5 separate regions of the Homo sapiens genome follow, and regions 2, 3, 4 and 5 are each linked to region 1. Evidence: promoter capture Hi-C in human tissues and cell types (Jung and others, 2019). All regions are on one chromosome and are shown on one strand. Each heading gives the region's core, a stretch centred on a gene start or on the middle of the fragment in contact. The rest is flanking DNA. Distances are from core to core; before and after follow the strand shown. Region 1 holds the start of NUFIP1 (nuclear FMR1 interacting protein 1). Region 2 has its middle 17 kb from the start of LACC1. Region 3 has its middle 36 kb from the start of LACC1. Region 4 overlaps ENOX1 (ecto-NOX disulfide-thiol exchanger 1). Region 5 overlaps LCP1 (lymphocyte cytosolic protein 1).

Region 1 (3,859 bases), core at 1,028-3,527:
GGTGATGCAGGTAATAACTGGAAGATGGTCCAAGTGCAGCTTCTATGGTGTGATATAGTGGATGTGAAGGCCATTGGTACTGGCAAACTTCTTAAAAATCCAGATAGATGAAATAAAAATGATATATGAAGATTTTTTGGCAACCGTTTTAGGTTCAGCCATCTAGGCGGTTATGAAGGGAATGGAATTATAGCAGGGGAGATTATGTGTTTAAAATGACACACTACGTGTAAGATATTGTGCTTGACGAAGAGAAGTCATTCAACAAATATATACGAAGAATCTTTTTCTTTTTTTTTTTTGAGACAGAGTCTCACTCTGTCGCCAGGCTGGAGTGCAGTGGCGCGATCTCGGCTCACCGCAACCTCCGCCTCCCAGGTTCAAGCAATTCTCCTGCCTCAGCCTCCCAAGTAGCTGGGACTACAGGTACGTGCCACCATGCCTGGCTAATTTTTGTATTTTTAGTAGAGACAGGGTTTCACCATGTTGGCCAGAATGGTCTCGATCTCTCGACCTCGTGATCCGCCCGCCTCGGCCTCCCAAAGCGCTGGGTTCACAGGCGTGAGCCACCGCACCTGGCCTTATTTTATTTTTTTAAAGCTATCTCCTACAGGAAGGAAAGCATAATTTTTCACATTTACTTTTATTTATTTATTTATTGAGACAAACTCTCGTTCCGTCGCCCAGGCTGGAGCGCAGTGGCACTCTCGGCTCACTGCAACCTCCGCCTCCTGGGTTCAAGCGATTCTCCTGCCTCAGCCTCCAGAGCAGCTGGGATTACAGGCGCCCGCCACCACGCCCGGCTAATTTTTGTATTTTTAGTAGAGATGGGGTTTCAACATGTTGGCCAGGCTGGTCTTGAACTCCTGAGTTCAAGTGATCCGCCCCGTCTCAGCCTCTCAAAGTGCTGAGATTACAGGCTTGTGCCACCTCGCTCAGCTGGAAGGCATAATTTTTAAAGTGGTTATGACAGAAATTATATTGGAAAGGGGCCTGTAGTAGAAACATAGCCTCCGGGTAGACCAGGAAGAAAAATTAGATTCAGAAATGGCAGGGTTACTCTTTCAGCTTTACTCTTCTCCAACTGGGTGTCGGTGCTAGTCTACAAATGTGAATAAACATTAAAGCAGATAGGTATGCATGCCGGAATCCGAGAAGCATTCGTTTCGTATATACCAAGTGCCTGTTGCGTGTTCAGGTAGAAGACCATAGTGCAATGGTGGAGACAGATTATGTCGACAAATTATTCAAATACAGTGTACTAAATATGCAATGTAATTAGGAAAAAACCCGAGGGCAAAAAGAAAGGCATGACAATGCTTCGGGGAATCTGGAAAGGTTTTATTGGTGTGACATTTAAGTTGGGCCTTGAAGGATGGGGAGAAGTTTGTCAGTTATGTTTAGGAATGCAACCAGAGGAAGCCCAGAAGCCTAGAGCGTTAAGGAATTGCGCAGCAACTCAGACTGGATTGAGTATTGGGCTGTGTTTGTCAGATGCAATAACAGAATGAGAGGCTAGGAAGGCAGGTCGGGGGCTGGAGAGAACAGGATCTGCAAGGTTCTTGTAATCAGAAGGCAATATGGCACAGAGGTTAAGAGAACCGCTTCCTTCTAAGTCGCGCTCCATCACTTGCTAGCAGTATGATCTAGACACTGGCATGGGCTTGGGCGTACCCATTTGCAACATGGGAAAATAGTTTTTTTCTTATACGGCTTAAATGACTGAGTGGGTATCAGTCAGTTAGGGCAGCGTGCAGCTCATATTAAGGCTAAATGAGAATGTATTATCATCACGAAGCCAAACCACGCCAAAGCTCGTTTCTAGGAGGGTCCCCCAGCCTCCTCCCCCCTGCTACTGTTTGGGAAGAGAAAAGTTCTCTCGGGTCAGGCCGCGCCCACTCCCCACTCCTCCGCCCTCCTAGGCCTCCGACTTTCTTCAGCGAGCAGGGCCCGGCCAGGGAGTGGGTAGATGGGCCTGGTGGGCAGCGGAGACGCCGCCGCTTACCAGGGCTCGGGTCCCGCTCTTCGTCCTCCGCTGTTCCGCGGGCCTTGAAGCCGGGCGGCAGGGCCGGTCCGATCAGGTCTCTTGCCATCCGCGGTGGCGGACACTGGTCACAGATATGAGTCTATCCACGAACGTCAACCCTATCCAAAAAGAATCCCGCGATCAGCAGCGAAGAATGGCAGGTTTCCCGGCGCCGAGAAATGACGTAAAGCCTGTGGTTGGCTGAGCCTTGTAGTTCACGGTAAAGGAAGTGACGCCTAATGCTTGCTCCACAGTCGCGTGCTAGACTCCGGACCCGCCAGTGGTATGGCTGAGCCGACTAGTGATTTCGAGACTCCTATCGGGTGGCATGCGTCTCCCGAGCTGACTCCCACGTTAGGGCCCCTGAGCGACACTGCCCCGCCGCGGGACAGCTGGATGTTCTGGGCAATGCTGCCGCCACCGCCACCACCACTTACGTCCTCGCTTCCCGCAGCCGGGTCAAAGCCTTCCTCTGAGTCGCAGCCCCCCATGGAGGCCCAGTCTCTCCCCGGGGCTCCGCCCCCCTTCGACGCCCAGATTCTTCCCGGGGCGCAACCCCCCTTCGACGCCCAGTCTCCCCTTGATTCTCAGCCTCAACCCAGCGGCCAGCCTTGGAATTTCCATGCTTCCACATCGTGGTATTGGAGACAGTCTTCTGATAGGTTTCCTCGGCATCAGAAGTCCTTCAACCCTGCAGGTAGGCTATTTTTCCACGTGAGTCGACCCCTTTACCTTTTTCCCCCGTTCTTTCCTCTCCCCTTTCTCTGCTTCCTCTCTCTACTCTGCCTTGCCTCTGCACTCTTGGAGTCTGGTCATTAGCATCTCAAAGCAAAGTGAGACCCCCGTCTCTACAAAAAAAATAAAATTAGCCAGGCATGGTGGCATGCCTGTGGTCGCAGATGCATGGGAGGCTGAGGCAGGAGGATTCCTTGAACCCAGGAAGTCGAGGCTGCTTTATCAACTAAGTTTATATAATATTGTAAATCCTTTGTTCTCAAAATATGTCTGACTAGAATGTTTTCCTGTTGACTGTTAATTCCATTTAGCAGTTATTTATTGAATTCCGACTATGTACCAGAATCTGGGTATATAGCAGTGAGCAGAACATACAAAAAATATTATGGAGCTTAATATTATCTCTCTTGTGTAGGAAGACAGACAATAAGCAAAATAAAATATTGTGCATTAGAAGGTTGAGTGGCATGGAGAGAGATAAAACAAAGAAGAATGGTAAGTAGTGCAGGATTTTCTTTTTTTCTTTTTTTTTGGAGACAGAGTGTCGCTCTGTCGCCCAGGCTGGAGTGAAGAGTAGCGCGATCTACTTCACTCCAGCCTATGCAGTCTCTGCAGAGAGGCTCACTGCAACCTCTGCCTCCCGAGTTCAAGCAATTCTCATGCCTCAAACTCCTGAGTAGCTGGGACTACAGGCCCACGCCACCACACCCGGCTAATTTTTTATATTTTTAGTAGAAAGGGGGTTGCCCCGTGTTGGACAGGCCTGTCTCTAACTCCTGAGCTCAGGCATCCGCCCGCCTCAGCCTCCCAAAGTGTTGGGATTACAGGCATGAGCCACCACGCCGGGCCAGGTAGTGCAGTTTTAAATGTCATTGTTAGTCATAAGGAAGGTGACATATGAGCGAAGACTTTAGGGAGGTGAGAGATCACAGCCATGCATACAACTGGGAGAATAGGGGTACGGGCAGAAGGAACTGCAAGTGCAAAGGTCTTGAGGCTTAGAAGCTATACATCAGAATGGGAACCAGTGTGGCTACAGAGGACTGAGTCTGGAGTATAATTGTAGAAGATGGGGGAGGAGGGTAAGACCTGGTATGT
Region 2 (4,230 bases), core at 1,353-3,852, 1.1 Mb after region 1:
CCATGCCCAGCTAATTTTTGTATTTTTAGTAAAGACAGGGTTTCACCATGTTGGCCAGGATGCTCTTGATCTCTTTACCTCATGATCTGCCTGCCTCGGCCTCCCAAAGTGCTGGGATTACAGGTGTGAGCCACCGTGCCCAGCCTCAGGTAGTTCTTTATTGCAGTGTGAGAAAGGAATAATACACTTCCCTCTTTCCCTTTTTTCTCCTATAGATATTAGATTATTATAATGTGATAATATCTTTGCTAGGTACTAAAAATATGAAGATAAGTAAGATATGCTCCTTATTCTGATGGAGCCTATATTTAGTAGTAGACAATTAAACAGACCAACATTTAAAAATAAGTTCACTGAGGACCATAAAAAATGATGCTCAGGATGGTTGCTAATGAGGCAAACAACGAAGAAAATATTCTGGAAGAGAAGACCCCAGATCTGAGTCTTAAAGGATAGTTAAGAGTTATTCAAGAGAGGCGACATTGACAAATGCCGTGTGTATGCAATGTGTACGAAGAGCCAGCAATGTGTACAAAGCCAAGAAGCAAGAGAAAACATAGCTGTGGAAGATGATGGTGATCATGGTGAGAACTGCTGTTGACCCAATAACACAGAAAAAAATATTGTGCACGCTTTTCAATATAGTAAAACTTTCTTTATACAGTAGAAGGTAGACCTTTGAGCATTAGTATGGCCCCTCACACTGCCCATGGAACAAAAGCTACTGAGCTTCCATGTACAATCTGGCATGGTACTCGCTATATATATGTGTGTGTGTGTATATATATATACATATATATATATACACACACACACACATATACACATACATATATATACATATATACACATATATATACATATATATATATACACACACACATATATATATATATGACATTGACAACTGAATTTTGGCCATATCTCCATGAGAAACTAGGGAGACACTAGAGTGTTGTAATTATTTACGTAAATGTTTATATTGTAGATGTCCTTGCTACTTCCTATTTGCTAATTTAGTAGAAAGCCTAAGTGAAGATAATCCTAAACAAAAATCTGAGTTCTAGTCAGTCTTTGAATGCCAACCAACCTATTTGGTCTGGCCTAGCTTAATGGCATACTCTAGGAAATGAAAAAAGTACAGAATGGCTACAGCATGGGGAGTGGTAGAAATTAAAGAAGTATGCAGGGGCAAGAGGATGACAGCACTTATACATTTTAGTGAGTAGGTCTTTACCTTGGAGGCAGTGGGAAAGCCATAAAAATTTTTTGAGAGATGTAATATGACCAGATTTGCATTTTAAAACAATCAATAATGATACTGTAAGAAGGGATTCAATAAGGAAAGACTAGTCAGAAGGCTGCTCTAATGATACAGGTGAGAGATGATGACCTGAATGTCTGTGAAAGTTGAGAGACATGGGAACACATGGTAGACATACAGTCAGTAGTGTGGGAAGGGAAGGGGAGACGGAAAGGGAGGCATTCAGAAACACTCCAGGGTTTCTGGCTGGGCAACTGCATGAATAATGATTTCATTCTCTGAGACAGAAGACAGGATGGGAGCAGGTTTTGGAGAGAAGATGATGAGTTAAGTTTGGAGGATATATTTGAGGGGACACAGGATATGTCAAACAGATAACTCTATTAGCCAAATCTGGATATGTATTGAAAAGTAGAAAACCAAAGGAATGAAGGTACCTTGTAAATATGAAATATCAAGTATGAAAACGAGGCTGATGGGAGGGATAAGAAAATACAATCTTGGCCGGGAGCGGTGGCTCACGCCTGTAATCCCAGCACTTTGGGAGGCCGAGGGGGGTGTATCATGAGGTCAGGAGATCGAGACCATCCTGGCTTACAAGTGAAACCCCGTCTCTACTAAAAATACAAAAAATTAGCTGGGCGTGGTAGCGGGCGCCTGTAGTCCCAGCTACTGGCGAGGCTGAGGCAGGAGAATGGCGTGAACCCCGGGAGGCGGAGCTTGCAGTGAGCCGAGAGCCCGCGCCACTGCACTCCAGCCTGGACAACAGAGCGAGACTCCGTCTCAAAAACAAAACAAAACAAAACAAAACAACAACAAAAGAAAGAAAATACAACCTTAAAACATGAGCTTTAAAAACGTAAGGAACAGGAAAGCATGGTGAGATGTAAACTGAAGCAGCGTGTGATGCAGAATTCTGAAAATGAAGGGTATTAAAAACCCAATTGTTACCATGAACAAATCTCTTTTCTACAAATGTTTCTCATGAAATGAGAGTACTCCCTTTACTCCCCTTTTTTGTCTTTTGTTTTGTTTTTGGTTAGAAAGGAATGTGGTATTTTGAGCTATAGTGTCTGCTGGAAATTTTGTTTAACAAAATGTAGTAACTGGACACCTCAACCTTCTGAGAATTAAATAAAACAAAAAGTCTGCTCCAAATACAGCAGAGACATAGCTCACCTCAGGCGCTTGGCAAAAGGACATGGGGAATGTGATGTAAGCATTTCTTTCTCTACAAAAATGCATCTAAGGAGAGTATGAAAAGTTTGTCTCAACACAGTTGACATGTAATCACTGTGACTTCAAACCAAACGTGTTAATCTGGAAAAAGCAGTACTGGCAGATTTCTTTTTTCTTCATTAAGCAATGACCTAGCACAGAACAATGCATTGCTTATGGCAATCTTTGAAATCACAAGTAAACTTTAAAAACACTGCCTACAATGGAAATGCACGTGCCCTAGATCAGGGTTCACACAAACACATCCAGTAAGCATATGGACCATGCTTTCCATTCTTTACTGCATAATTTATTAAAAAATCTATAGAGAGAAATCTATTATTCTACTGCATCCAATGTGTTATGTGTGTGTTAATTTATATTAGCTAGGGCAAAAAGGCTATGTGTCATATTTAACACACATATTTCTTATTTGCCATTTAGCACATACACAAAGACTCATGCATACAAACACGATAACACACAATAACTGAGTAATGCTTTCTTTAAAGTGCTGAACTTTCATAGATTGGTAGCATTCTCTAAGAGTTCACACAAAAAGTAAGATGGATACATTGGAAGTATAACTCTAGGACAATCAAGTAAAAATAAATATCAAATCCCACTTTGAGATATAAAAGCATATAACTCGTATGTCACTGTTATCTTTCCTTCCAGCTGCTGAATATATAGATATTATTTCTGTTTTGTCATGTTACATAGAATAAGCTTCTCTGAGTTTCTCCCAAAAATCTACTTACAGAAAAGCAATTACTAGAGATTCTGTAGGAGTGAGATAGAAGTGGGTGAGGGTTCCTAAATGCTTTTATCTACTTGAACTACCACGTTATACCTAAAGTAAGAGCAATACATTCACTAACTTTAAATGCGTCCTCCCCTCCCTTTTTATTCCACAAGAAAATACAGAGTTTAAGATTAGTTCAACTTCACATGACTGTGATGCACAAATTCTTTAAGTGTAAGGAGTCTATGCATTTTACAGTAACTTATTTTATGATTGGGAGATGAGACAGTTATACATTCAACTGCCATTATTTTTATTAAGTGCTTTCATTTTCTTTACAGTTATTACAAAATTGTATTTATTTTATACAGATGGGTTTTCATTTTCCTGATGCTGTAATGTTTACTTCAGCTTGTTGACCTTTCTTTGTGTTATCTGCATGTTGTAACGTGTGATAAGAATGAATGTAAAGGCTGTGGCAACTGTAATTAATTTTTGTAAAGGGCTGGTCACACGTGGATCTGGTTTATGAATGTATTTGGGATGATTTTAGTAACCAGATCACCTTTTCAGAAATTTAGATGTGAACACCAAAAGATGCATTTTCTCAACAAAAATTAATAGCTGGTTCTATTTTTTTAAACCTAGAAAAAATAAAGTTGATTTTTTTCAAAAAAAAAAAAGATTAGTTCAACTTTATACCAAGAAATAATAGTAGAGCTACTTGTTGAAATACCACCTCCTAGTGGTAAGGTCATCTTATTTGTTTTATAAAGCACTGGGGTATAGCATATTTGGCCACTGTGCTATTTTTCACAATTTAAAATTACAGTTGGATAAATGGCCCAGTAAGTTTTAGTTTGATAGTATTTTCAAAAAGGTATTTCATTAATGTTTATTTGACTTACAAACTTAATTCCCCTTATTAATAAAATAGCAATCAATATTTCCTATGTGCAGTTAGTAGCAGTGCTTAGATTAAAAACAAAACTTTAAGAGGAAT
Region 3 (3,961 bases), core at 833-3,332, 1.1 Mb after region 1:
ACTCCCAAATTTGAACTGAAATTTGAATTTCAGTTTTATCTGTTGTATAATATTGGACAAATCATTTAATCTTTCTGAGTATCAGTTTCTTCTGTGTAAAATGGCCACAACACCAACCTCAGAGAATTGTAAAGGCTTTTGTTGCATTCATCACATCAAATTTTGTTTACAGTTCCTTCTGTGAGATTCTTGAAGGCAGAGACTATGTCTTATCCATTCCTAAATTTTGGATAATTAACATAGTGCCCAACAAATAAAAAACATTCAATGAATATTTGTGAAATTGTGTTGAATCAACTATTTGTACTAGTGCAGCCCTTTGACAACATACTGAATAATATTTTTGTAAAAACAAAAATTCCATTTTTAAATTCAGGTAGTATGGTAGATTAGAATTGTTCTGCAAATATTCACCTTTATCCTCCTCTTTGATGAGAAAAGTATATTCCCTAACCCCTGGAATTTAGTCTTGCCCATATGCCTTGCTTTGGCTAATAGGATGCTAGTGACCATGACCTGAGCAGAGGCTTGAACTGAGCTTGCATAACCGGGCTTGCTCTCTTGAACTCCTGCCTTTCACCACGAGAAGAGCATGTCTTGTGCAGCAAGTAGTCCAAGGAGGATGAGAGACATTTGGTGCCAAGCCCTCCCAAAGCCAAGCTGGGTCAGCCAAACCTCAATTGACTTTTAGATGTGTCAGCCAGAAATACTCATTACTCTACACCACAGTTTTGGGTGGTTTGCTAGACAACATAATTGTGGTGTAGCTTATTAAAACAGATGGTGTTTGATTAAAGAATGTACACCATTTGCTATGCTATAAGTTCTCAGAGTGGACTATACTTTCAAGCTGGGTCAATTTTTCCATTGAACTTAGTAGATTACCTACTAATATAAATGTGTTATTATTTATGTCTTATGATTCCAATGGTATAGTGGTTAAAATTGATAATCTGAGAGCAACTTCCTCAAGCAAAGTATTTTTTTCTAGGTGAAGTTCACCATGAGAAGTTCAAGTTCATTTGAAGTTTAATCTAGTGGAAATATTTTCCTTCTCCACTGCCTCTCATGTCACCTATGAATGTCTGGTGCCATTTTGGGCAGAACCAAATTTTTTTCTCTGCAGGCAGTATGATATAGGGAACTCCCATGGGGCCATATGTACAAATTGAGGGAGAAATGGTGATGAGCAGCCTTCTATTCATGGGAGTGGAAACAAGTCCTATTAACGTCTTAACACTGCCTTTGGGTTTTGCTCAGGCCCAATGTCATATACAGCATTTTTATTTGCTGATGGAGAATCTCTAGACACATTTAACTTTATGATCAGCTAGATCCAAACAATCAATTGATATTGGAAAGCTTAGGTCATTTGTAGACCTATGGTCAGGTATTCACTCCTATCAGGACCTGGCAGCAAGCCACAAACTGTTTTCAGAAGGAAAACAGTGACTTGATAAAGAGGTCATAGACTTGCTCCAAGATCCTACGGGCTCACACCGTGATTCTCTTAGTTGAACTTGGTGCAGGAGCAGGCTCCATTTAGATTCCTTATCTGCCACAGACACTTAAAGAACCTATGATCCAGCTGGGTGCGGTGGCTCACGCCTGTAATCCCAGCACTTTGGGAGGCCGAGGCGGGCGGATCATGAGGTCAGGAGATCGAGACCTTCCTGGCTAACACGGCGAAACCCCGTCTCTGCTAAAAATACAAAATGTTAGCCGGGCGTGGTGGTTACTCAGGAGGCCGAGGCAGGAGAATGGCGTGAACCTGGGAGGCGGAGCTTGCAGTGAGCCGAGATCGCGCGACTGCACTCCAGCCTGGGCAACAGAGTAAGACTCTTGTCTCAAAAAAAAAAAAAAAAAAAAAAGAACCTATGATCCACTGGTTTAGAAAAGCTGAAATTGCAGAGCCAGAGCCTCTTATAACTAAAGTCTGTACAACCATGGATTTCTTTTTGCTCTGGACTCCATTCAAGGCTGGAAATATTTTTGGTCAGTGACTAAATGAGTCAGAGCAGAACAACCAAATGTAGTATATGTTGCCTCAAAAATCCAAAGACACCTGTTAAACATTGTGCCTCTTTCTCAGTGGTAGGGGCACAAAGGCGCACAGTGTTTGCCTCTGGACAGAATAATCCAATATGATGAAAACAACCTGACTCTAGAAACTTCGCTGACATGGTAGGCACCTAAATGTTCATGGATTTTCTCCTCCAGCTACTGCCACGCATGTGCCTTAAAGGTTTCTAGGGTATCTGTTACTCCCTGCTATGCAGATCTTAACAGTAAAATGTCACAGATGTAGTGTACTAATGTGATGCTCTGTGAGGTGTTAGGACAGTTAAGGTCCTTGTGGGCCTAATTTTGACACAGAGCCAAAGAGCTGACATAAGCCTTAGACAAGATTGTTCTTTGGAATAGTGGGAAAATGGGCTAATTTAATGACTACATGTTAGATGCCAAGAGAGGTGTCAGTTTGTTTCAATAAAAAAGGCCACAGCTGAAACAGCAGCTTAACTGAAGTAACCATTGGTTGAGTTTTAATAATCCATTGCCATTCATGAAAATCCAGTCAAATTTGTATGTTAAATCTGAATATGAAAGGAATCACTTCTCCAAACAAACATAGCTTCTAGGTACATAGCTTCTAAGTTTTCAGTGGTGGCAATGATCTCTATGGTGCTTCAAGGATGCAGTATTGCTTTTGGTTTACTCTTTTGGTAGCATGAGGAAGGAGCTCCAGGAGCTTCTGCTTGGCCCCTGTATTAGCCTTTCAAGTAGTGTTCTATTTTGGCATGCATCAGAATCTCTTGAATGGAGAACATAAATTGTTAAACCCCACCCCCAGTTTTTGATCCAGTAAGTCTGGTTGGGGTTTGAGAATCTGCATTTTTAACAAGTACCCAGGTGATACTGATGCCAACGTAGATTATGACTACAGACTGCAGATTGGGTAAGTGAAAAGAAATTTTCAAATAAATTTACCAGCCTCAAGCATTTAACATAGTACCAGCATCAGTCCGTGTGTTTGACGAAGAAGAAAGTGGAGACGAGTGGTGAAGTTAGTAAGTCAATTCAGTGGCAGCTGGTGAAGAGATCTCCTATTATCCACCTCATATAGTTGCTGTAAATTTTAAATGAGGGTATGACTGTAATGTGATCAGCACAGTGCCTGGTATATGGAAACACTCAATAAATATTATTATTTCAGTTTTTTAAAATTAATTTTAAAATCCACCCAATATAGCCACTAATCACCTAAGCATCTTTGTATTAGTTATTTAACCATTTGGGCACTGAGTTTATTCATCTATAAAATAAAGTGGTTGAAATAGGTGATCTTTAATGTCTGTAAAAATCACTGGTTTTACATTAAAAGGAATCTATCATAGCTGTCTTAATTAAGGTTTTATACTCACTGAGGGTGATCTTTCTTTATAGCTCTGATGTTCTGAAAATCTTGTTTCTTATTTATTTTATCTAAATTTTGCATCTTGTGGAATACATATTTTTCTAAAAAGTAGATTGGACTTTAGGTCAGTTTCTACCTATATTTATGCCTGGGAACTCAGAATTGAGGTACTATAAAAAGAAAAACCCAAATAGTAAAGGTTGTCTTTTCTGTTTATAGGGTCATACTTTTCCCATTTGGGTTTCTCTGAGGCTTTACTGGAGAGAACTAAAGCCCCGTTAGCAGAAGTGCCACAGAGACATAAAAGAAGCTGCTATTGTTTTAATTATATGGGTCTAATTACGGTAATGTGATGGATAATTTACCATACACTAAGGGCTGGAAATTTCAAGTTGTTTTGGGATTAGAACCTGCAAATCATTTTGATTAAAATACCAATGACTTCACTGAAGGGCCACTGTCTAAAATTCTGCACAATCATATTCTTCTTATTATAAAAATTTCATACATGTCATTAACCACAACTTGATGAGAAAGCAAAATAGA
Region 4 (4,218 bases), core at 441-2,940, 1.7 Mb after region 1:
TAATAGCTAATGTGCAGATTCGAATACACACTGCACATATGAAATGTTATGTCAATGCTAAGTTGTAATAATAATAATCCTGCAAAAATGTAGCAGAAGAAATTTCCGTGAGCAATTTGAGGAAGATTGATCAGTGGTGATACAGGTATTATTGAAAAGCAGATCAATTGTACTTTGTTGGTACCATAAGAGGCTCTCCAGCAGGAGACTGGCTGTTGGCAGATGTCATCCTAGGATACTTTCCAGCTCTGTGCCTGGCCACTGGGAGGCACTGATGGCAACAGCAGCCACTGAGAATGAGGCTACCAATGATGAAGGACCCCAAGCCTCTGTTAATCTTCTGACATGGTACTGGTCCTTGTCTTTGGCCTTCATTAGCCCAAGCAAAGTAGACTCAGGGGACAGAGTTCATGGGAGGTCAGCATAACGCAGAGGAGTTTCTGTCACCTTTATTCTAACTGAAGGCACAGACACCTTAAAAATCAAACATAGGTGAGTTCAGATGGATGGGGTGAATAGTCTCATACTGGATCTTTGGGAATCCTGAGATCAGCATGGGTCTATGGACAAAACTCTCTCAATAAAGCATTATTAGCAACTCAGGCTCTTGAGCTCTGGGATTAGTGGGTATCAGTGTGGCCGTTTGAGAGGAGAGGGACACAGGGCAGAAAGTAGGATCCCTAAGTGGTTCCAGCCAGGCCTCAAGATTTCCTGAAGAGTGAGTTTAACTTCTCCATAAATCATCCCCAAGTTTGTCCTGCAGAAAATACCTGCATGTTTATTTTAAAACAGGATCATCCTCTCTGCTTTCATAGCAGAGTCTCTCTCCAGCAGAACACTCCCCAGATAGAGCCAGAAATTGAATGTTTTACTTCTGTTAGGAGCAAACTAGCCACTACAGTAGGGTCCCTGGTTTACTCCTTTCTCTGGGATGGGCGGCACTTACATGGAGCTAAGCTAGCCTGGTGGCATTACATGGAGGAATATAGTCCTAGAGCCACACCTTTTACCTCCAACCAGCAACCTCTGTCTCCCATAAACTCACTTCCATCATCTGGAAAATAGAAATAATAATCATATTGACTGTATCATGTTTTCATGATGGTGAAAGGATACTGTGTAAAGAATATGCTTACCTCAGTGCCTGGCACATAAAAATCATTAGCTGTCACTACCACTGTTGCTATTCCCATTACTGCTACTGTTATTTGAAGAAAGCAGAATAGTGACTGTGCCTTTTGCCCAAATCTTCCATAGGAGATAGCCAGGGCACGGGGCAAGCTGAGCTCATGGGACCTGGGCACAGGGATGCAACAGGGCTGCCTTCCCAGGTGCAGAACATGGAGTCGGGGCTCATACAAAAGGAGATCAAGGAATAAAACCAGAATGACAAGCCAAGCATGTGGTTCTTTCAGAAGCATTTCTCCAAACAAGCCAACCACAACCCCAGTTTAGGAATCGGGATAGAATGAGCAGCGGTCTGAGCAGTGGCTCTCAAAGTGTGGTCTCTGCACCAGCAGCATCAGCACCACCTGGGGGACTTGGAAGAATGCTAATTCTTGGGCTTCCTCCCAGACAAACTGAACTGGAAACTGAGGGTAGGGCCCAGAAAAGTGTGTTTTAATATGCCCGCCAGGAGCTTGTAATGCAGGCCAATGTTTGGAGAACACTGGGTTAGAGTAACACCAGCTGCTGTATAAAGATGGCCTAACCAAAAAAAAAAGTGTTACTTTTTGGGCACACAACAGTCCAAGGCAGATATTCTGGGCCTGTGGGCACCTTTCCTCCATGTGGTGACTCAGAGACCCAAGCCTATTCCAGCAGCAGGCAGAGACTGAGGGACTGTGCAGAAGGCATCCTCACTCCCCCTCACACTCCATTGATGAGACTGCTCACATGGCACCCTCTAGGGCAGTCACCTCTCAGGAGCAACACTGCTCTATACAAAGAGAAGCATGAGTTTGAGTACACAGCGTGATAATGTCTCTGCCACAGAATAGCTTCTAAAGGCCTCAAGGCACCTCACAAGAAGATTCAGAATGCAGAGAAGCAGATAGAAGCTGGAGAGAGTCCCTGTCACTGGGCCATAACTACAGCTCCCTTTCCTAGTGGAGCAGGAGGCAGGATCGTGGCTGAGGAGGCAGCCGTTGAAGGCACACAGATATTGTGGTGACATTTGCCAGGCCAGCCTGCCTCTGCCCTCCTGTGTTCAGGGGCTATCGGTACAACTGCCTTCCTGGGTAGCAGCCAATGAAATTCTTGAAAAAGACTTTCTTTGCATGTGGGAAGGAAATCTACAGTTCAGCAGCGTCCTTCCAGCATTTCAGGAGGACATCTGGCAAAGTGGAGGGGGAATGTTAAACACAGAGTTCCCCAAACACACAAAGACTAAGAGTTCTGGAGAAACACAGATATTGTTAGAAACGATATGTTAAAATGTTTTATTATTTAGTTACATCTTGCCTGAGCATGAAAAAGATATTAACAGACTGTCAGCTTACTGGGACATAACCCAAAACAACTTACATTTTTCATATATTGCTAACTATTTTTCTGAGGCTGGCTCAGGCTGGTAAAAGAGATTTCAAGGCTTTCTCCAGATTATTTACTTAAAGAAGTTAAGCATGGCATTATCTGTTCCCATGGAAACACAGTAAGACAGGAGACAGAAGAGGAGGTCACTTTGACCATAATTAATATAAAGAATAATGGTTTATATAGAATCTAGTAAAGAATATAACAAGATGCCGCAATACCTTTAAGCCTTTTCTTCAGCAGTGCCGTTCAACCTTTGGATTGATTTTCATACATTAGTGTCACTTTGGTCATTTTTTAGTCTAGTGCTAAGTTTTGAAGTATAACAATCTTGCCTAGCAAAATTTTTCCAATTTTATTATTTCATTTTTGATCCAATCAGAAAATTCCAGTATTCAGAATTTTTCTAAATTACTGAGTAACTAGAAATGGGTGACTGTGCTGGCCTTAAGCTTCTTGTGAATGCTACAGCTCCTCACCATGTTTTCTTAATAAATACATAAATGGGTGGCTGGTGAATTAATTGATGGTAATCCAGAGGCACCACTAGATTCAGCAGTGCCTTTAAAATCACCAACAAAATATTTAATCACATTCAGTCCGGTTGACATTTAAGGTGTCTAATTCTATTCTTTTTTTATTATCGGAAATTGGTAATCCACATGGGGTGTCTCTTACATATTCCATTTATTGGCACTCGGTGCACTCCTTAGGAATTCCTACCGAAAGATGCACACTGTACTTTTTTTTTTTTTAATCCTTATACTTATTTGGATAGTGGATTCATTGTGCAGTCTCATAAGGTAAATTTTATTATGGAAGCTTGATGACACATTTTTTCAAAACTCTTTAATTTAGTACAGTATTCCAGAAAGAAAGAAAGAGAAGAGAGAGAAATAAAAAGTTTCCCTTTCCAATTTCTGAATTTTTAATATACTGAGAAGTTATATTAAGTCAGAAATTATTAGGATTTTTTTTCTGTTAGCGCTCTGGCCCAAGAAACATAATATAGCCTCTTCCAGGCAGCCTTGTCTGAGGAATAGATTCAGGGCTGCAGTATGACACTGAGTGGTGTTTACAAACAGGTGGCCTGAAGCTAAGTGGAGTCAATATACAATTTCTCACCCTTTAGAAGATAACTACTTGCTGCCACATGAGTAACGAAAATTTTTTTGTAAAAACCAAGCTTGAAATCATTTAATCAGGAATGTAAATCAGTTATGTGCCCCAATTATAAAAATGTTGATGGAATTTGCTATGGTATTGATTTTTTTTTTTTTTTTGGTGGGGGAATTACAGCTGTTGTGGGTTTTTTTAATATGATGATATCACATTCCTATTCCGGGAATGCAAACAATATTATATACTGCTTGGCAGGCACTGTAGTCACTTGGCTTAGCCAAGAATAAGAACTCTCAGCAGTACCATTCCATAGGTTTGTAAGAGATCCCCTAAAATAATGGATGGTACACTTTCCTATATGTATTTATGTTCAGATAATTTATTTAAATAATGCTGTTGGCACATGCTTTATAGCTGCTTGCATTTTGCTATACAGATTTCAGCATATCTTGCAGACTATGCAATTCATTTGGAAAATGTAATTTCCATCCCTGCGTACTAATCGATTTCTTCACAAACACCTGCTATCAGTTATGATAATAAAAATGCCACTCTGAATTG
Region 5 (3,861 bases), core at 912-3,411, 1.2 Mb before region 1:
TGCTTTCTTTAGCCCCTCCTTTTAAGCTCCAGATGCCTCAGCATGCCCATTACTGCAGCAGTATCTGTATAGTTTGCTGCCTATATGGTGCCAGTAATTTGCAAACTAAAGCCATCACCAACTAATCTTACTTATATTACTTATTAATCTTATAATATTATCATAACCCATATTTTCAAATATGCGTGAATTAAAATGGGTGCATTTTTGTTTTTTTTTTGTTTTTGAAATGGGGTCTCGCTCTGTCACCCAGGTTGGAGTGCAGTGGCATGATCTCAGTTCACTGCAACCTCCGCTTCCTGGGTTCAAGTGATCCTCCCACCTCAGCCTCCCGAGTAGCTGGGATCACAGGCATGCACCACCACACCTAGATAATTTTTGTATTTTTGGTAGAGATGGGGTTTCACCATGTTGCCCAGGCTGGTCTCGAACACCTAAGCTCAAAGCAATCCGTGCACCTCGGCCTCCCAACATGTTGGGATCACAGGCATGAGCCACTGCACCTGGCTCAATGTCTTTCTTAAAAATGATCTGGTCTGCCTGTTTTTACACTAATTATGTCCTCTTCCTGCTGCTTTGCTTTGTGAAATTACTGCCCTTTGCACATTCAGTTTAATTACTTAAAGGTCTCTGCTCAGTTATGGACCTTAGGGGCCCTTTTAATGGTAACTCCATCCTTTTCCTGCTCTGCTCATCAGCACCTGCATTTACAAGCTCCAGCCTGGCATTGCCTTGAGAATTTGTACATGGATAAAACATTTCTTCTCATTAGAACTTCAGTTTCCTTATTTATAAAATGAGGACATTGTAATAAATTATTTATGAGGTTCCTTCTGTCTCCAAAAGTTAGGTTGTGTTTCCAGGATATGCTGCTCATGCTGATGGTAAAAGGGACTCTCTCCAGATATCTATTCATGTTTCTGCCCAACAACAACAAACAGTATCACAGCAATGTCAGTTGCTGATTATCCCTTCTCCACTTTACCTTTTAAACTAAGTTAATCCACTTCTCTTTTGCATTTGCTGTTAAATCACTGAAGCATTTTGGATTTTTTAAATTTAAAGGTGTTCTTGCTGTTTGACTTCTCTGAGTTTATCCTCTCCACTCATAAATCTCGTAGAAAAATATTGTTACAGATGCTCAAGGCTTTTCATCTTGACCTACCTGCTGTGGTTTAAAAATAATATGATTTTAAAATACATGTACTTTCTATGTCTTTTAAATGAATGGGCCACTGCAATTTTTATGGTAAAAAAAATTTCCCATTATACCATGATCTTTAGATATTTTTTAGATTTTCTTTTTTTACCCAACACTGTAATTGTTTTGTTTCTTCATTGGCCCTACTTGTGACACTTAGAATGTAGTCTTGTTCTCTGCTTCTACTTATATTTATCGCTAGCTGCTGATAGCGCTCTAAAATCTAACATTCTTGTGTCAAGGGATAAGGCCAGGTTTAGAGTCAGAGATCTTGTTTGTCCTCCTTACCTTTGACATTGTTCCATGCTTTCAGGATAACTAACTGGGTCAATATAGACGTGCTTACCTAAAATGAAGAATAGCACCTGGCTTATAGTAGGCATTCATAAAATATTTGTTAAATGAATGAATGTATCTTATAATCCCATAAACACCTATGAACCAAGAGGTCTTAAGACATTTAAAAACATGAAGGGCTGGACAGCCGGAGAGCTGGAGAGCCTTCTATTCATGCATATGTGGATATGGTAGAGGGTATAGAAGAGACCTAAGCCAAGTTAGTCACAAGGATTTAGCAAAGTATATTAATACAAAGTTCTATACTAATTCCTTAAAACAGAAGCCTTGATTTCTGAGCACAGGAAAGCAAAAGCTTTCTACTAGAATGACTGGACAAGCTCACTATATTGTAGTTTTAAAAATCTCCCATGGGGCTATCCATAGTCCATATACTTAATAACTCATTGTTTTTTTTTTTTTTTTTTTAATTGATCATTCTTGGGTGTTTCTCGCAGAGGGGGATTTGGCAGGGTCACAGGACAATAGTGGAGGGAAGGTCAGCAGATAAACAAGTGAACAAAGGTGTCTGGTTTTCCTAGGCAGAGGACCCTGCGGCCTTCCGCAGTGTTTGTGTCCCTGGGTACTTGAGATTAGGGAGTGGTGATGACTCTTAACGAGCATGCTGCCTTCAAGCATCTGTTTAACAAAGCACATCTGGCACCGCCCTTAATCCATTTAACCCTGAGTGGACACAGCACATGTTTCAGAGAGCACGGGGTTGGGGGTAAGGTTATAGATTAACAGCATCCCAAGGCAGAAGAATTTTTCTTAATACAGAACAAAATGGAGCCTCCTATGTCTACTTCTTTCTACACAGACACAGCAACAATCTGATTTCTCTATCTTTTCCCCACATTTCCCCCTTTTCTGTTCCACAAAACCGCCATTGTCATCCTGGCCCGTTCTCAATGAGCTGTTGGGTACACCTCCCAGACGGGGTGGCGGCCGGGCAGAGGGGCTCCTCACTTCTCAGAAGGGGCGGCAGGGCAGAGGCGCCCCCCACCTCCCTCCCGGACGGGGCGGCTGGCCGGGCGGGGGCTGCCCCCCACCTCCCTCCCCGACGGGGCGGCTGCCGGCTGGAGACGCTCCTCACTTCCCAGACGGGGTGGCTGCCAGGCGGAGGGGCGCCTCACTTTTCAGACAGGGCGGCTGCCGGGCGGAGGGGCTCCTCACTTCTCAGACGGGGCAGCCGTGCAGAGACGCTCCTCACCTCCCAGACGGGGTCGCGGCCGGGCAGAGGCGCTCCTCACATCCCAGACGGGGCGGCGGGGCAGAGGCGCTCCCCACATCTCAGACGATGGGCGGCCAGGCAGAGACGCTCCTCACTTCCCGGAAGGGGTGGCGGCTGGGCAGAGGCTGCAATCTCGGCACTTTGGGAGGCCAAGGCAGGCGGCTGGGAGGTGGAGGTTGTAGCTAGCCGAGATCACGCCACTGCACTCCAGCCTGGGCAACATTGAGCACTGAGTGAACGAGACTCCGCCTGCAATCCCAGCACCTCCGGAGGCCGAGGCTGGCAGATCACTCACGGTTAGGAGCTGGAGACCAGCCCGGCCAACACAGCGAAACCCCGTCTCCACCAAAAAAATACGAAAACGAGTCAGGCCTGGAGGCGCGCGCCTGCAATCGCAGGCACTTGGCAGGCTGAGGCAGGAGAATCAGGCAGGGAGGTTGCAGTGAGCCCATACGGCAGCAGTACAGTCCAGCTTCTGCTCGGCATCAGAGGGAGAACGTGGAAAGAGAGGGAGAGGGAGACCGTGGGTTGAGGGAGACGGGAGAGGGAGGGGGAGGGGGAGGGAGGGGGAGGGGGAGGGAGAGGGAGAACTCATTGTTTAGTGAATAAATGGATGGATGGGATGTGTGTCTAACAGGAACATGAAGGCAGAGAACCCGAGTAGACAGCCTGGGAGAGGAGAAAAGACTTGGGGATTGGAGTTTTGGCTGCTTCTCCACCCAGCTGAGTGATTTGAGATCTGTATCTTAACTTCTCTGAGATACTGTTTTCTGATCTATACAATGAGAATATACATACCTATGCCATCAGCCTATATTGAAGGACATTGTAAGAAACACAAAACCTGTGTTTACCCCATCCCACAAATGGCCTCTTCTTAAAGCCTGTGTGAAGATTTTGCTGTCAGACATCAGATCTGCTGCCCTAAGAAAATTGGTTTGTCTCATAGATAGTGAATTGTATAACCGATGATACTTTCCTTTTTGCCTTAGCTTCTAGAGAACTTGGAGATAGATTTTCAGCCTACTTGTAGCAAAACATGCGGGGTCTTAGGCATGTATTTTAAGTATTAGAGTTCCTCCCGACCATC

Evidence for each region. Contacts are between HindIII fragments. The study calls those that stand out against the background at their distance.
Region 2: a fragment that was not itself captured here is called in contact with the fragment with the promoter of NUFIP1 in region 1 in 1 of the 25 tissues and cell types used here (dorsolateral prefrontal cortex).
Region 3: a contact is called between a fragment that was not itself captured here and the fragment with the promoter of NUFIP1 in region 1, in 1 of the 25 tissues and cell types used here (dorsolateral prefrontal cortex).
Region 4: a fragment that was not itself captured here is called in contact with the fragment with the promoter of NUFIP1 in region 1 in 1 of the 25 tissues and cell types used here (hippocampus).
Region 5: a contact is called between a fragment that was not itself captured here and the fragment with the promoter of NUFIP1 in region 1, in 1 of the 25 tissues and cell types used here (dorsolateral prefrontal cortex).

Annotation. Positions count from the first base shown.
Region 1 is chr13:44,987,889-44,991,747 of GRCh38, reverse strand. NUFIP1 (nuclear FMR1 interacting protein 1) reads left to right here and starts at 2,277. Exons shown (of 10, transcript NM_012345.3): 1 at 2,277-2,723. The coding sequence starts at 2,312. It overlaps GPALPP1 (GPALPP motifs containing 1), which reads right to left and starts at 2,210. Exons shown (of 8, transcript NM_018559.5): 1 at 2,006-2,210. The coding sequence starts at 2,093. RefSeq lists enhancers at 1,464-2,100, 2,027-2,216, 2,407-2,476, 2,101-2,739. The HindIII fragment of the contact is 10,586 bases long and covers 1-3,859 here.
Region 2 is chr13:43,894,383-43,898,612 of GRCh38, reverse strand. No RefSeq gene overlaps it. Among named protein-coding and RNA genes, the nearest start is that of LACC1, 17 kb to the right of the region's middle. The HindIII fragment of the contact is 3,971 bases long and covers 617-4,230 here.
Region 3 is chr13:43,913,681-43,917,641 of GRCh38, reverse strand. No RefSeq gene overlaps it. Among named protein-coding and RNA genes, the nearest start is that of LACC1, 36 kb to the right of the region's middle. The HindIII fragment of the contact is 3,808 bases long and covers 179-3,961 here.
Region 4 is chr13:43,301,183-43,305,400 of GRCh38, reverse strand. All of the region lies in intron 11 of ENOX1 (ecto-NOX disulfide-thiol exchanger 1), which reads left to right. Among named protein-coding and RNA genes, the nearest start is that of ENOX1-AS2, 150 kb to the left of the region's middle. RefSeq lists an enhancer at 1,895-2,124. The HindIII fragment of the contact is 5,794 bases long and covers 1-4,218 here.
Region 5 is chr13:46,161,739-46,165,599 of GRCh38, reverse strand. All of the region lies in intron 1 of LCP1 (lymphocyte cytosolic protein 1), which reads left to right. Among named protein-coding and RNA genes, the nearest start is that of LCP1, 19 kb to the left of the region's middle. The HindIII fragment of the contact is 3,518 bases long and covers 403-3,861 here.